Regions from separate parts of the Homo sapiens genome. Here region 1 is linked to region 2. The links are contacts of gene promoters, found by promoter capture Hi-C in human tissues and cell types (Jung and others, 2019). All regions are on one chromosome and are shown on one strand. The core of a region is centred on a gene start or on the middle of the fragment in contact, and the rest is flanking DNA. Distances in the headings are between cores, read along the strand shown.

Evidence for each region. The method cuts DNA at HindIII sites, captures the fragments that hold promoters and counts their contacts. A contact is called where the count stands out against the background at its distance.
Region 1: a contact is called between a fragment that was not itself captured here and the fragment with the promoter of OR2M7 in region 2, in 1 of the 25 tissues and cell types used here (neural progenitor cells).

The regions. Positions count from the first base shown.
Region 1 is chr1:248,129,705-248,136,270 of GRCh38, reverse strand. No RefSeq gene overlaps it. Among named protein-coding and RNA genes, the nearest start is that of OR2M5, 12 kb to the left of the region's middle. The HindIII fragment of the contact is 6,525 bases long and covers 1,226-6,566 here.
Region 2 is chr1:248,322,100-248,328,756 of GRCh38, reverse strand. It overlaps OR2M7 (olfactory receptor family 2 subfamily M member 7), which reads left to right and starts at 4,189. Exons shown (of 1, transcript NM_001004691.1): 1 at 4,189-5,127. The coding sequence starts at 4,189. The coding sequence ends at 5,127. The HindIII fragment of the contact is 10,500 bases long and covers 1-6,657 here.

The DNA of each region.
Region 1 (6,566 bases), core at 3,239-5,738, 190 kb after region 2:
ATTCTGTGGATTGTCTCTTTACTTTGTTGATTGTTTTCTTTGTGCTGCAGATGCTTTTTAACTTAATTTGATTCCATTTATCCACATTTGCTTTGACTGGCTGTGCCTCCAGAGAATTGCTCAAGAAATCTTTGCCCAGTCCAATGTCCTGGGGAGTTTCCCCAATGTTTGCTGTTAGTCGTTTCATAGTTTGAGGTCTTAGATTAAAGGCTTTAAAACATTTTGATTTTTGTATAAGCCAAGAAACAGGTGTCTAGTTTCATTCTTCTTCATAAGGATATTCAGTTTTCCCAGCACCATTTTATTGAACAGACTATATTTTCCCAATATATGTTCTTGGTATCTTTGTCAAAAATTACTTCCCTGTATGGATTTGCTTCCTGGTTCTCTCTTCCATGCTATTAGTCTATGTGTTTGTTTTTAATGTCAGTATCATGCTGTTTCTGTTACTATAGCTCCTTAGTATAATTTTAAGTCAGGCAATGTGATTCCTCCAGTTTTTTTCTTTTTGCTCAAGATTGCTTTGGGTATTCTAGGTCTTTTAGGATTCCATATGCATTTTAGAATTTTTTCTATTTTTTGAAGAATGTTATTAGTATTTTGATAGAGATTAGTTTGAATCTGTAAATTGCTTTGTGTAGTATAGACGTTTTAACAATATTGATTCTTAAAATCCATCAACAAGGAATATTTTTACTTTTTTGTGTATCATAGTCAATTTATGGCACCAATGTTTTACTGTTTTTATTGTAGACGTATATCTGTTTTAATGGTTGATGTTGGTCAGTAGTACCTGAATTCCAAAGGGAGAAGTTTATAAGGGATAAAGCATGTTCAGCCTCCACCCTCTTTCCATTATGGCCTGAACAACAATTTGAAGTTTACTTTGGAATGTTCTTGGCTGAGAGGCAGATTCATCAGTCAGTTGGGGGCTTAGAATTTATTTTGGGTTTACACTACTCTTTTAGCCAAACTTAGGTCTGGACCACTTGTAGTCTGAAAGCCACAAACTGAAGACACAGGGTTTGGTGTTTAAAAAAAAAGTTACCTTTATTTGAGAAGCGAACAACCTAGAGGAGCCATTAAACGGCATTCAAAGACTGCCTTTCTGAGTTGTGCCTCTGGTTCAGGAGATTTTAAGAGAAATTAGGGGAAATAATAAAAACATTATTGTAAAATGTGTACAGTCTTAAAAAGGCAGCTAATTATTGCTTTCTTGGTCAATGCTTTGTGACCTTGTGTACACCTTCAAGATGTTGTTATTGGACTGGTTGGCCCATTTTTAGGGTTGCTGGTTGATGTATTTTCTTTTATCTCTGTTGAATGTCCTGTTTTCCTGAGGCTGTTTTTAGTGAATAATTTATAAACTCAAGCAAAGCAATAATTGACTTTTCACAAGCAATAACTGAGTTTTGCATGAATTTTGCTAGTCATGCAAAACTTCTTCCTAGATTTTTATATTGTTCTGCAACCACCCTGAATTATTCCTGTATATTGTCTCACAATGTTTTTGAATAAAACCTTCCTTACTATGCTTCAACATGCATCACTGACTTTTTTTTTCTTTAACTCACACACAGGTTACTATTTGCACTTGATCCTCTCCTCTCCTATAGAGTTAAGACTAGGGGCTCTACCTGCTCTCGATCTCATGCTATGTGAGCAGTGTTCAACTATCAACCCCTCAACCATGCTTTCTCAGAAAACTCCATTTAAAATTTCAAAACATAATGAATTTTATTTCCCTATCTTGTTTTATTTTTACAGCATTTTCACCTCCTAGTACTCCATAAAATTTACTTGTGCAACTTGAGTTTTTGTACTTTGCTAGAGAAATATGCTTAAAAACAAACTCTCCTCAAAACCCAAGAATCCTCTTCATAAATTTAGAAGAAAATAAAACAATTTAATTATTGAGTAAGTATTACAGGAGAATGTAATATTCATCACAGGCAACTCACCAAACTGCTTGCAAAGATAGAATGAAATCTCACTCTTTTTGATAGCTAACTCAATATAACCCACTTCATACTTTAAATAGGCTTTATAATGTGGGGTCAGATGACAGCAGAAGTTAGACCTATGGTTCTTCCTATAACCTGAAAGATGGGGTTGTTACCTTCCTTTATTACATTTCTTGACTTTTTAATAATCGCCATTCTGACTGACGTGAGATGGTGTCTCGTTGTGATTTGCATTTCTCTAATAATCACTGATGATGAGCTCTTTTTCATATGTTTGTTGCCTGCATAAATGTCTTCTTTTGAGAAGTGTCTGTTCATATGCTTTGCCCACTTTTTGATGAAGTTGTTTGGTTTTGACTTGTACATTTATATTCCTTATAGATTCTGGATATTAGAACTGTGAGAGATGGGTAGACTGCAAATTTTTCTCCCATTCTGTAGGTTGCCTCTTCACTCTGATGCTAGTTTATTTGGCTGTGCAGAAGCTCTTCAGTTTAATTAGATCCGATTTGTCAATTTTGGGTTTGTTGCAATTGCTTTTGGTGTTTTTGTGATGAAGTGTTTTCCCATGACTATGTCCTGAATGGTATTGCTTATGTTTTCTTCTAGTGATTTTATGTTTTTGGGTTTTATATTTAAGTCTTCAATCTATCTTAATTTTTGTATAATGTGTAAGGAGGGGGATCTAGTTTCAGTTTTCTGCATATGGTTAGCCTGTTTTCCCAGCAATATTTATTAAAAAGGGAATAATTTCCCCATTGCTTATTTTTGTCAGATTTGTCAAAAATTAGATGACTGTAGATATACGGTGTTATTTCTGAATTTTCTCTTTTGTTCTATTGGCCTATATGTCTGTTTTGGTACCAGCACCATGCTGTTTTGGTTACCGTAGCCTTGTAGTGTAGTTTGAAGTCAAGTAGCATGATGCCTCTAGGTTGTTCTTTTTGTTTAGGATTTTCTTAGCTATACAGGCTCTTTTTTGATTCCATGTAAAATTTAAAGAAGTATTTTCTAATTCTGTGAAGAATGTCAATGTAGTTTGAAGGGAGTAACATTAAATCTATAAATTACTTTGGGCAGTATGGCCATTTACATGATATTGATTCTTCCTATCCATAAGAATGGAATGTTTTTCCATTTCTTTGTGTCCGCTCTTATTTCCTTGAGCCGTGGTTTGTAGTCCTCCTTGAGAGGTCCTTCACATCCCTTGTTAGCTGTATTCCTAGGTATTTTATTCTCTTTGTAGCAATTGAGAATGGTAGTTAATTCATGATCAGGCTCTCTGCTTGACTATTGCTGGTATATAGGAATGCTTGTGATTTTTGCACATTGATTTTGTATCCTAAGATTTTACTGAAGCTGTTTGTCAGCTTAAGTTGTTTTTGGGCTGAGATGATGGAGTTGTCTAAATATAGAATCATGTCACTTGCAAAAAGGCAATTTGACTTCCTCTCTTTTTATTTGAATACTTTTTAAAAATATATTGCCTGATTGCCCTAGCCAGAACTTCCAAAACTGTATTGAATAGGAATGGTGAGAGAGGGCATGCTTGTCTTGTGCCGGTGTTCAACAGGAATGCTTACAGCTTTTGTGATTCAGTATAATATTGCCTATGGCTTTGTCACAAATAGCACTTATAATTTTGAGATATGTTTCATCAATACCTAGTTTATTGAGAGTTTTTAATATGAAGGAATGTTGAATTTTATCAAAGGACTTTTCTGCATCTATTGAAAGAATCATGTGGTTTTTGCCTTTGGCTCTGTTTATATGATGGGTTACATTTATTGATTTGCATATATTGAACCAGCCTTGCATCCCAGAGATGAAGCCAGCTCGATTGGGGTGTATAAGCTTTTTGATGTGCTGCTGGATTTAGTTTGCTAGTATTTTATTGAGGATTTTGACATCAATGTTCATCTGAGATATTGGCTTGAAGTTTTCTTTTTTTTGTTTTGTCTCTGCCATGTTGTGTTAGCAAGATGATGCTGACCTCATAAAATCAGTTAGGGAGGAGCCCCTCATTTTCAATTATTTGGAATAGTTTCAGAATAAATAGTGCCAACCTCTCTTTATACTTCTGGTAGAATTTGGCTGTGAATACATCTGGTCCTGGGCTTTTTTTGTTGGTAGGCTATTAATTACTGCCTCCATTTCAGAACTTGTTATTGGTTTAATCAGGGATTTGACTCCTTCCTGGTTTAGTCTTGGGAGAATGTATGTGTCCAGGGATTTATCCATTGCTTCTAGGTTTTCTAGTTTATTTACATAGAAGTGTTTATAGTATTCTCTGATGGTAATTTGTATATCTGTGGGGCCATTGGTGATATCCTCTTTATCATTTTTTATTGTGTCTATTTGATTCTTCTCTCCTTTCTTCAATAGTCTAGCCTGTGGTCTATCTATTTTGTTATTTTTTTCAAAAAAACTAGCTCCTGGATTCATTGATTTTTTTGAAGGGATTTTTGTGTCTCTATCTCCTTCAATTCTGCTCTGATCTTAGTTATTTCTTGTCTTTTGCTAACTTTTGGATTTGTTTGCTCTTTCTTCTCTAGTTCTTTTAATTCTGATGTCAGGGTGTTGATTTGAGATCTTTCCAGCTTTCTGATGTTGGCACTTCGTGCTATAAATTTCCCTTTTAACAATACTTTAGCTATGTCCCAGTGATTCTGACAAGTTGTCTCTTTGTTCTCATTGGTTACAAAGAATTTCTTGATTTCTGCATTACTTTTGTTATTTAGCTAGGAGTCAAGGAGGGGCGGGTTGTTCAATATCCATGAAACTGTGCGGTTTGAGTGAGCTTCTGAATCCTGAGTTCTAATTTGATTGCATTGACAAGGGCACTTATAACAGTTGCCCTTGTTTGTTATAATTTCCATTCCTTTGCATTTGCAGAGGAGTGTTTCACTTCCAATTATGGTTGATTTTAGAATAAGCCCCACGTGGCACTGAGAATAGTGTATATTCTTTTGATTTGGGGTGGAGAGTTCTGTAGACGTCTGTTAGGTCCACTTGATCCAGAGCAGAGTTCAAATCCTGAATATCCGTGTTAAATTTCTGTATTGTTGGTCTGTTTCATATTGACAGTTGGGGGTTAAAGTCTCCCACTATTATTGTGTGGGAGTCTAAGTTTCCTTGTAGGTCTCTTATAACTGGCTTTATGAATCTGGATGCTACTGTATTTGGTGCATCTGTATTTAGAATAGTTAGTTTCTCTTGTTGAATTGATCCCTTTACCGTCATTTAATGCCCTTGTTTTACTTTTTTGACCTCTGTTGCTTTAAAGTCTGCTTTATCAGAGAGTAGGATTGCAACTTCTGCTTTCCTTTGCTTTCCATTTGCTTGGTAAACTCTCCTCTATCGCTTTATTTTAGCCTCTGTGTGTCTTTGCGCATGAGATGGATCTCCTAAATATAGCACACTGATGGGTCTTCATATTTTATCCAATTTGCCAGTCTGTGTCTTTTAATTGGGGATTTCACCCATTTACATTTAAGGCTAAAATTGTTATGTGTGATTTTGATCCCGTCATCATGATGCTAGCTGGTTATTTTGCACACTAGTTGATGCAGTTTCTTCATACTATCATTGGTCATCATATTTTGCTGTGTTACTTCAGTGGCTGGTACCAGATTTTCCTTTTCATATTTAGTGGTTCCTTTGGGACCTCTTGAAAGGCAGGCCTGGTGGTGATGAAGTTCCTTATCATTTCCTTGTGTGGAAAGCATTTTCTTTCTCCTTCACTTATGAAGCTTAGTTTGCCTGGGTATGAAATTCTGGGTTGAAAATTCTTTTCTTTAAGTATGTTGAATAGTTGCCCCACTCTCTTCTAGCTTGTAGGGTTTCTGCTGAGATATCTGCTGTTAGTCTAATGGGCTTCCCTTTGTAGGTGACCTGAACTTTCTCTCTGGCTGCCCTTAATAGTTTTTCCTTCATTTCAACCTTGGAGAATCTGTTGATTATGCATCTTGGGGTTGATCTACTCATGAAATATCTCAGTGGTGTTGTCTGCATTTCCTGAATTTGAATGTTGGCCTGTCTTTCTAGGTTGGGGTAAGTTCTCCCGGATGATATCCTGAAGTGTGTTTTCCAACTTGGTGCCATTCTGAATGTCTTGTGTTTATGCATTATCCCATATTTCTCACAGGTTTTGTTTGCTTCTTTTTATTCTTTTTTCTCTAATCTTGTCTGCATGCTTTATGTCAGCAGGATGGCCTTCAAACTCTGATATCCTTTTGTCTGCTTGATATCTAATCTTGTCTACATGCCTTATTTCAGTAAGTTGATCTTCATTCTCTGATGTCCTTTCTTCTGTTTGATCAATTCAGCTATTGATACCTGTGTGTGCTTCAGGAAGTTCTCATGCTGTGTTTTTCAGCTCCATCTTGTCATTTTTGTTCCTCTCTAAACTGGTTATTTTAGTAAGCAGCTACAGTAACTTTTTATCCAGGTTCTTAGCTTCTTTACTTTGGGTTAGAACATGCTCCTTTAGCTCAACGGAGTTTGTTATTACCCACCTTCTGAAGACTACTTCGTCAATTCATCCATCTCATTTTCCATCCAGTTCTGCACCCTTCCTGGAAAGGTACTGCAATCATTTGG
Region 2 (6,657 bases), core at 2,940-5,439:
GCATTCCCTGTGATCTACTTTGTTCATTCAACATTCTATTTGTGAGATTCATGAATGCTACTTCTTGTAGTTATAGTTATAAATTCCATTGCCAGTGCACATGCAGGTTGCATTTTCATATTACAAATAAAACTGCTATGCTCATTTTGCTAATATGAGAGATTTTTTGTTTTATTTCCTGATTATTCCTATTACAAAAGGGTAAAGTCATTTTAGCAACTTCAGTTGATTACACAGTGGATTACACATGCTGTCTGACATTATTTCACGTAATGCTTTACTTTTTTTTTTTTTTTTTTGGTCAAATTCTGGCCTCTTGATGCCTCTTTTCCATCATCTCACTCAGTGCCTTCTCAATTTCTCACCTAGATTTTCATGGTTTCTTTGTTACTATTGCTCTGGCCTGTGCACAGTTATCACAGTGTCATAAAATCTGACCATGATTTTCATGGATTTTGTGTTACAATATATTGCTCTGGGCATGTGCACAGTATCACAGTGTAATGAAATCTGATGACTCCTCTTCCAGATGTGATGAGGTTAATATATGAAAAAGACATTTAAAAATACTGAATCTATGCACCATCTTTTTACAAAATGATGGAGTTTATTACAACAGAAACAATGTAGATTAGATAAAATAAATAAAATTAGAAGCATAAAATTACAACTAAGGGAAAAATACTTGGTAGGCAATGTCTAATGCAGAGTTCAAAATGTTGTACCTCATTATGTGAATACCTTTGAAATATCAATAGGTATTCTAAAAAAATAAAAAACAAGATGTCATAATTTCAGAGCCATTCTGAAAAAGCTGCTTTTTATGTTCCTCCTAGTACAGAGCTGAAGCTCTAAATGTTCTGCTTTTTTTTTTTTTTTGGCAGTGAAGAGTCCTGGATAACTTGGAGTTGCAAATATATTTCACCACAGATCCATTTTTATAGGAATATATACAAATACCTCTTGGAATCCCAATGTTATCTTCACTGCATTTTCAGATTGTTTATATCCTGGATAACTTACACTGAGCTTCAGGATTGGGTCTCATATTCCTGGTGCCTAAAGGTAAGCACAATCTGTCATATGTATCTTACTAACTTAGAAGAAATGTCAAATTTTCATTAGAAACAATATTATTTTTCTTTATAGAATTTTATTGAATGAATGTTCATATGGATCTTAATATAGAAGGCATAGGGCAATCTAGTGCTCAATATTTTCAATTTTATCACTTATAAACTGTTATAAATTTGTGATATATCTTGCCACATTCTCTGTGACAGCACAAAATCAAGGAAGGCAATTTTAGCACGTGGGTATGAAGAGAATTTTGAGGCAATGAAAGGAGGTGAAAAATACGAGACAAATAAGAGTGCATTTATATAAGTTCAGCCTAAACTAATGTGACTGATACAATTCAGAGGGATATGTAGACTTACATTTGTAATCAATTTTGTTTTAATGCTGCATCATTCAATGGAATGTAAAACATATGGTAGAAATGTCTAAGTGATCAAGTAGAATTAATCACCATTTTATCTCAACTTAGTGACTTGGAAGTAGTGTTTCCCAAATGTAAAGAACACTTTGCCAACTGAAAAAGAAGCATAGGGAGAAGCGAACTTGACCACATAGCTTCCTTCTTGGAGTAATATTTCAGACTGAGTTAAAGAAAAATTATGGTGGAAATTTGAGGTAATACAGTTTAGTTTGGATAAATTGTGTATTGTAACAGTTGACAAGATCAAGAAAACTGGGACAGCTACAGTATGATGGTCGAAATAGGTGGTTCCATAAAGTAAGTTGAGATGAGTTATTTTCTTGAAGCGAATTCAGCTCATAAGCACTGGAAATTATTGAGGCAATACAACGTCTTTTCCCCTGATTGACCTTAAAAGCCCACCTCCTCTTGAGGACAACACAAGGGAACCCTTTGGTAGGAAACCCCCAACACTGAAGATCCCAGAGATGCCCATTTCTCATTCTCAAGACATTGACTGGACCTGGATCTGAGCTACCACTGATCAGGTTTATCCAACTTCTTGATAACCATTTGTTTTAAAACCAGAAAGGGAGGAGGTTGAAGCCTGTTTCTCTCTTCATGCTGATTGACAAAAATGATTTGTTTTTATTTTAGAGATTGCCATTCTAATCTCATGAGAGTCTCTTATGGAGATTCCTTCTCTGTCTTCCCTGCACTGAAGAGGCATGTTTTGTTAGGTTGTTCTTGAATGAAAACTTAAAACTCTGCTCGAGTATTTTTTTTCTTTCTTACCAATATTATTCACAATTAATATAAATAAATAAAACTCAAAAAGGTATACTTTACTACCTCCCTATTGAAAAAATTGTATTTCAACCCATGAGGACAAATTCCAGATTCCTTCTCTTCTGCAGATTTCTTCTAACTTCCTTGCTGCTCCTAGATTTTTCACCTTTCATTGATGTTGTTGTTTTCAGTCTCTTCATTAAAATGTGATGCATGAATAAATGAAAAAAGTACATTTCTGTCAAGTGAGTCTACTCACCAGGCTTGTCTTTCTGTTTATGACATCATTTTTTACTGCCTGGAATAATCTCCCTTCACATATTGGCTTTGCTCATACATTTATTATTATCTCACACAATAAAAACTTAATGCCACAACATACAAGAAACATAACTCTAAATTAGAAAACCCTATGTTTTCCCAAAATCTTCCACACATTTCTATTTTCTCTGTGTATGTTCTATTTATTGCATTTCATTTTGTGGAATTTATATACGTACAACCCTTTCCTGTGATCTGGTGTCTTTCTCACTTGCTCAGAGTCTTTGCCAAAAGCCATTAGATGTGTGAGGTTTCCCTTGACTACTTTATTCAAAGGTGAACATACTAGTGCATTTCTAACACCCTTCTTTGACTTACTTTTCTCCAAAATGTTTATCCTCTTATGACATAAAGTGTTTTATAATCATCATCTGATCACACTCACTATGACCTGTATGGACACGGGCTTTCTTTATTCTGGTCACTGTGGTAGCCCCAGTGATCAACACATAGCCAGGCTTCATAAATGTTGTTGAAAGGATGAATCTCATGCTTTTCTTAATTTCTGTTTTTATATCTACTTATTTTCTATAGGATATATTGGATGTATTAATTTCCTACGAATGCCAGTACAGAGAAATCACAAACAGGTTACCTAAAACAATAGAAATTTATTCTCTCATAGTTTTGGAGTCTAGAAATCTGAAATCAAGTTGTCAGCAGGGTTGGACACTTCTGAGGGCTCTAAGAGGATGAATCTGTCCCATTCCTCTCTCCCAGGTTCCTGTTATAACTAACAGTTTTTGGCATTTCTTGATTTGTAGATGCACCACTCCAATCCCTGCCTCCCCTATCACATGGTATCCTCAGTGTCTCAGTCTTCACATGGCCACCCACTTATCAGAACATGAGTCATATTGAATTAGAGAGACCCACTCTGCTCCAACTTGACCTCACCTTAACTAATTATACCCTTTATGTATTTCTAAACAAGCTCACTTGCTATCTTTTGGGGAAGAAACATAATTCAATGCATCACACTGGGCTATAGAAAAAAGAGCATATGTCTTAGATTTGTATAATTGAAAATCTTTTCAGTGAATCCACTTACTGTATAGAAAACTTACTATAAAGTATAGATAAAATACTTTAAACTGTAAAGTAATAGGTAAACATACACATTTTCTTAACTCTGGTAGGAAAAATGCCTACTATCATGTGAATAAAGGCACAAATTTATTGTCCATTTCTAGTATTGTGTTGGTCACATGGTGACTGAACCTGAATTTCTCTATCAATTTACCTGTAACAGGCTTCTGATGTTTTAGGAACTGTTTGCTTTGGAGACATATTCTTTTTGGAAAAACTCCATTGATCATGTAGTAGATATTGTTATTGTAATTTTTCAATGGAGAAAAAGAATGCTTAGAAGAAAAGTTAGGACAAGCTCCATAATTTTATAAGTGAGACACTGCTGAGAGAACATATTTCTTTATGATTCCATAATTCTTAAACTTTGAGTTTTATAATTCTGGCCATCCTGTATTGATCACCAAACTACAGAATTTACCATAATCACATGCTTTATAAGGCACTGGGTAAATGTTTATCAAATTAATGAACTGTTTTTGCGGTGCTAGGTAACAGGCATATTCATCATGGCATGGGAGAATCAGACCTTCAACTCTGACTTCCTCCTCCTGGGAATCTTCAATCATAGCCCCACCCACACCTTCCTCTTCTTTCTGGTCCTGGCCATCTTTTCAGTGGCCTTCATGGGAAACTCCATCATGGTTCTCCTCATCTACCTGGATACCCAGCTCCACACCCCCATGTACTTCCTCCTCAGCCAACTGTCCCTCATGGACCTCATGCTCATCTGCACCACTGTACCCAAGATGGCCTTCAACTACTTGTCTGGCAGCAAGTCCATTTCTATGGCTGGCTGTGCCACACAAATTTTCTTCTATATATCATTGCTTGGCTCCGAATGCTTTCTGTTGGCTGTTATGTCTTATGACCGCTACACTGCCATTTGCCACCCTCTAAGATACACCAATCTCATGAGACCCAAAATTTGTGGACTTATGACTGCCTTCTCCTGGATCCTGGGCTCTACAGATGGAATCATTGATGCTGTAGCGACATTTTCCTTCTCCTACTGTGGGTCTCGGGAAATAGCCCACTTCTGCTGTGACTTCCCTTCCCTACTAATCCTCTCATGCAATGACACATCAATATTTGAAGAGGTTATTTTCATCTGCTGTATAGTAATGCTTGTTTTCCCTGTTGCAATCATCATCACTTCCTATGCTCGAGTTATTCTGGCTGTCATTCACATGGGATCTGGAGAGGGACGTCGCAAAGCTTTTACTACTTGTTCCTCTCACCTCATGGTGGTGGGAATGTACTATGGAGCAGGTTTGTTCATGTGCATTCAGCCCACATCTCATCATTCTCCTATGCAGGACAAGATGGTGTCTGTATTCTACACCATCGTCACTCCCATGCTGAATCCTCTCATTTATAGCCTCCGCAACAAGGAAGTGACCAGAGCATTAATGAAAATCTTAGGAAAGGGCAAGTCTGGAGATTGAGTTACCTCATAAATTTCATGTTTTGCTGTCTGCTAACGTCTTCTTTTTATTGTCTCTCTTTTTCTATTAAGTCCTAAAAATATCACTAATTGTGTGCATTGCTCAACATATTGATGGGTACCAGTATAATTTATTTCAGATAAACTATTTTAGATTTTTTAATATTCAATTCAGTTATGACTACAATATAAGGCATTTTCAATAAAGACATTCCATTTTTATTTTTAAATTTCATTATCATTTTGGGAAACACATAGTGTTTGGTTACATTAATAAGTTCTTTAATGGTGATTTCTGAGATTTTAGTGCAGCGATCAACCAAGCAGTGTTCGCTGTACCTAATGTGTAGTCTTTTAGCCCTCTCCAGTCCCCAACATTTCTTCCAAGTCCCCAAGTCCAGTGTATCATTTTTATGCCTTGGTGTTTCATAGCTTAGCTGGCACATATGAGTGAGAATATACGATGTTTGGATTTCCATGCCTGTGTGACTTCACTTTGTATAATAGTCTCCAATTCCAACCAGGTTGCTGCAAATGCTATTAATTAATTCATTTTTATGGAAGAATAGTATCCCATGGTATGTATATACCACCTTTTATTTATCCACTCATTGACTGATGATCATTTAGGCTGATTCCATCTATTTGCAATTGCAAATTGTGTTGATATAAACATGCAACATGTAAGTACCTTTTTTGTATAATGACTTCTTTTCTTCTGAGTATATACCTTGTAGTGGTATTGCTGGATCAAATGGTAAATCTACTTTTAGTTGTTTAAAGAATCTTCACACTGTTTTTCCTAGTGTTGTAATAGTTCACATTCCCATCAACAGTGTAAAAGGGTTCCCTTTTCACCACATCCATGTCAACATCTATTATTGTTTGATTTTTTGATTATGGCCATTCTTGCAGGAGTGAGTTTGTATTGCACTGTGGTTTTGATTTGTATTTCCCTGATAATTAGTGATGTTCAGCATTTTTCCTTATGCTTTTTGGCCGTTTGTATATCTCCTTGAGAACTGTCTATTCAAGTCCCTTAGCCCAATCCCAGTTTGATGGGATTGTTTGTTTTCTTCTTGCTAATTTGTTTGAGTTCTTTGTAGATTCTGGATATTATTCCATTGCCAGATGTATAGATTGAGAAGATTTTCTCCCACTCTCTGGGTTGTCTGTTAACTCTGTTGATTATTTCTTTTGCTTTGCAGAAGTTTTTTAGTTTAATTTAGTCTTATCTTTTATCCCCGCACCTCTTTTTTTTTTTTTTTTTTGCATTTTCTTTTGGGTTCTCGATCATGAAGTCTTTGCCTAAGCCAATATCTAGAAGGGTGTTCCCGATGTTATCTTCTAGAATCTTTATGGTTTCAGGTTTTAGACGTAAGTCTTTGATTGGCCTTGAATTTATTTTTGTATAAGGTGAGAGATGAGGATTCCGTTTCATTATCCTACATGTGGCGCGCCAATTATCCCAGCAGCATTTGTTGAATAGGTTGTCCTTTCCCCACTTTATGTTTTTGTTTGCTTTGTGGAA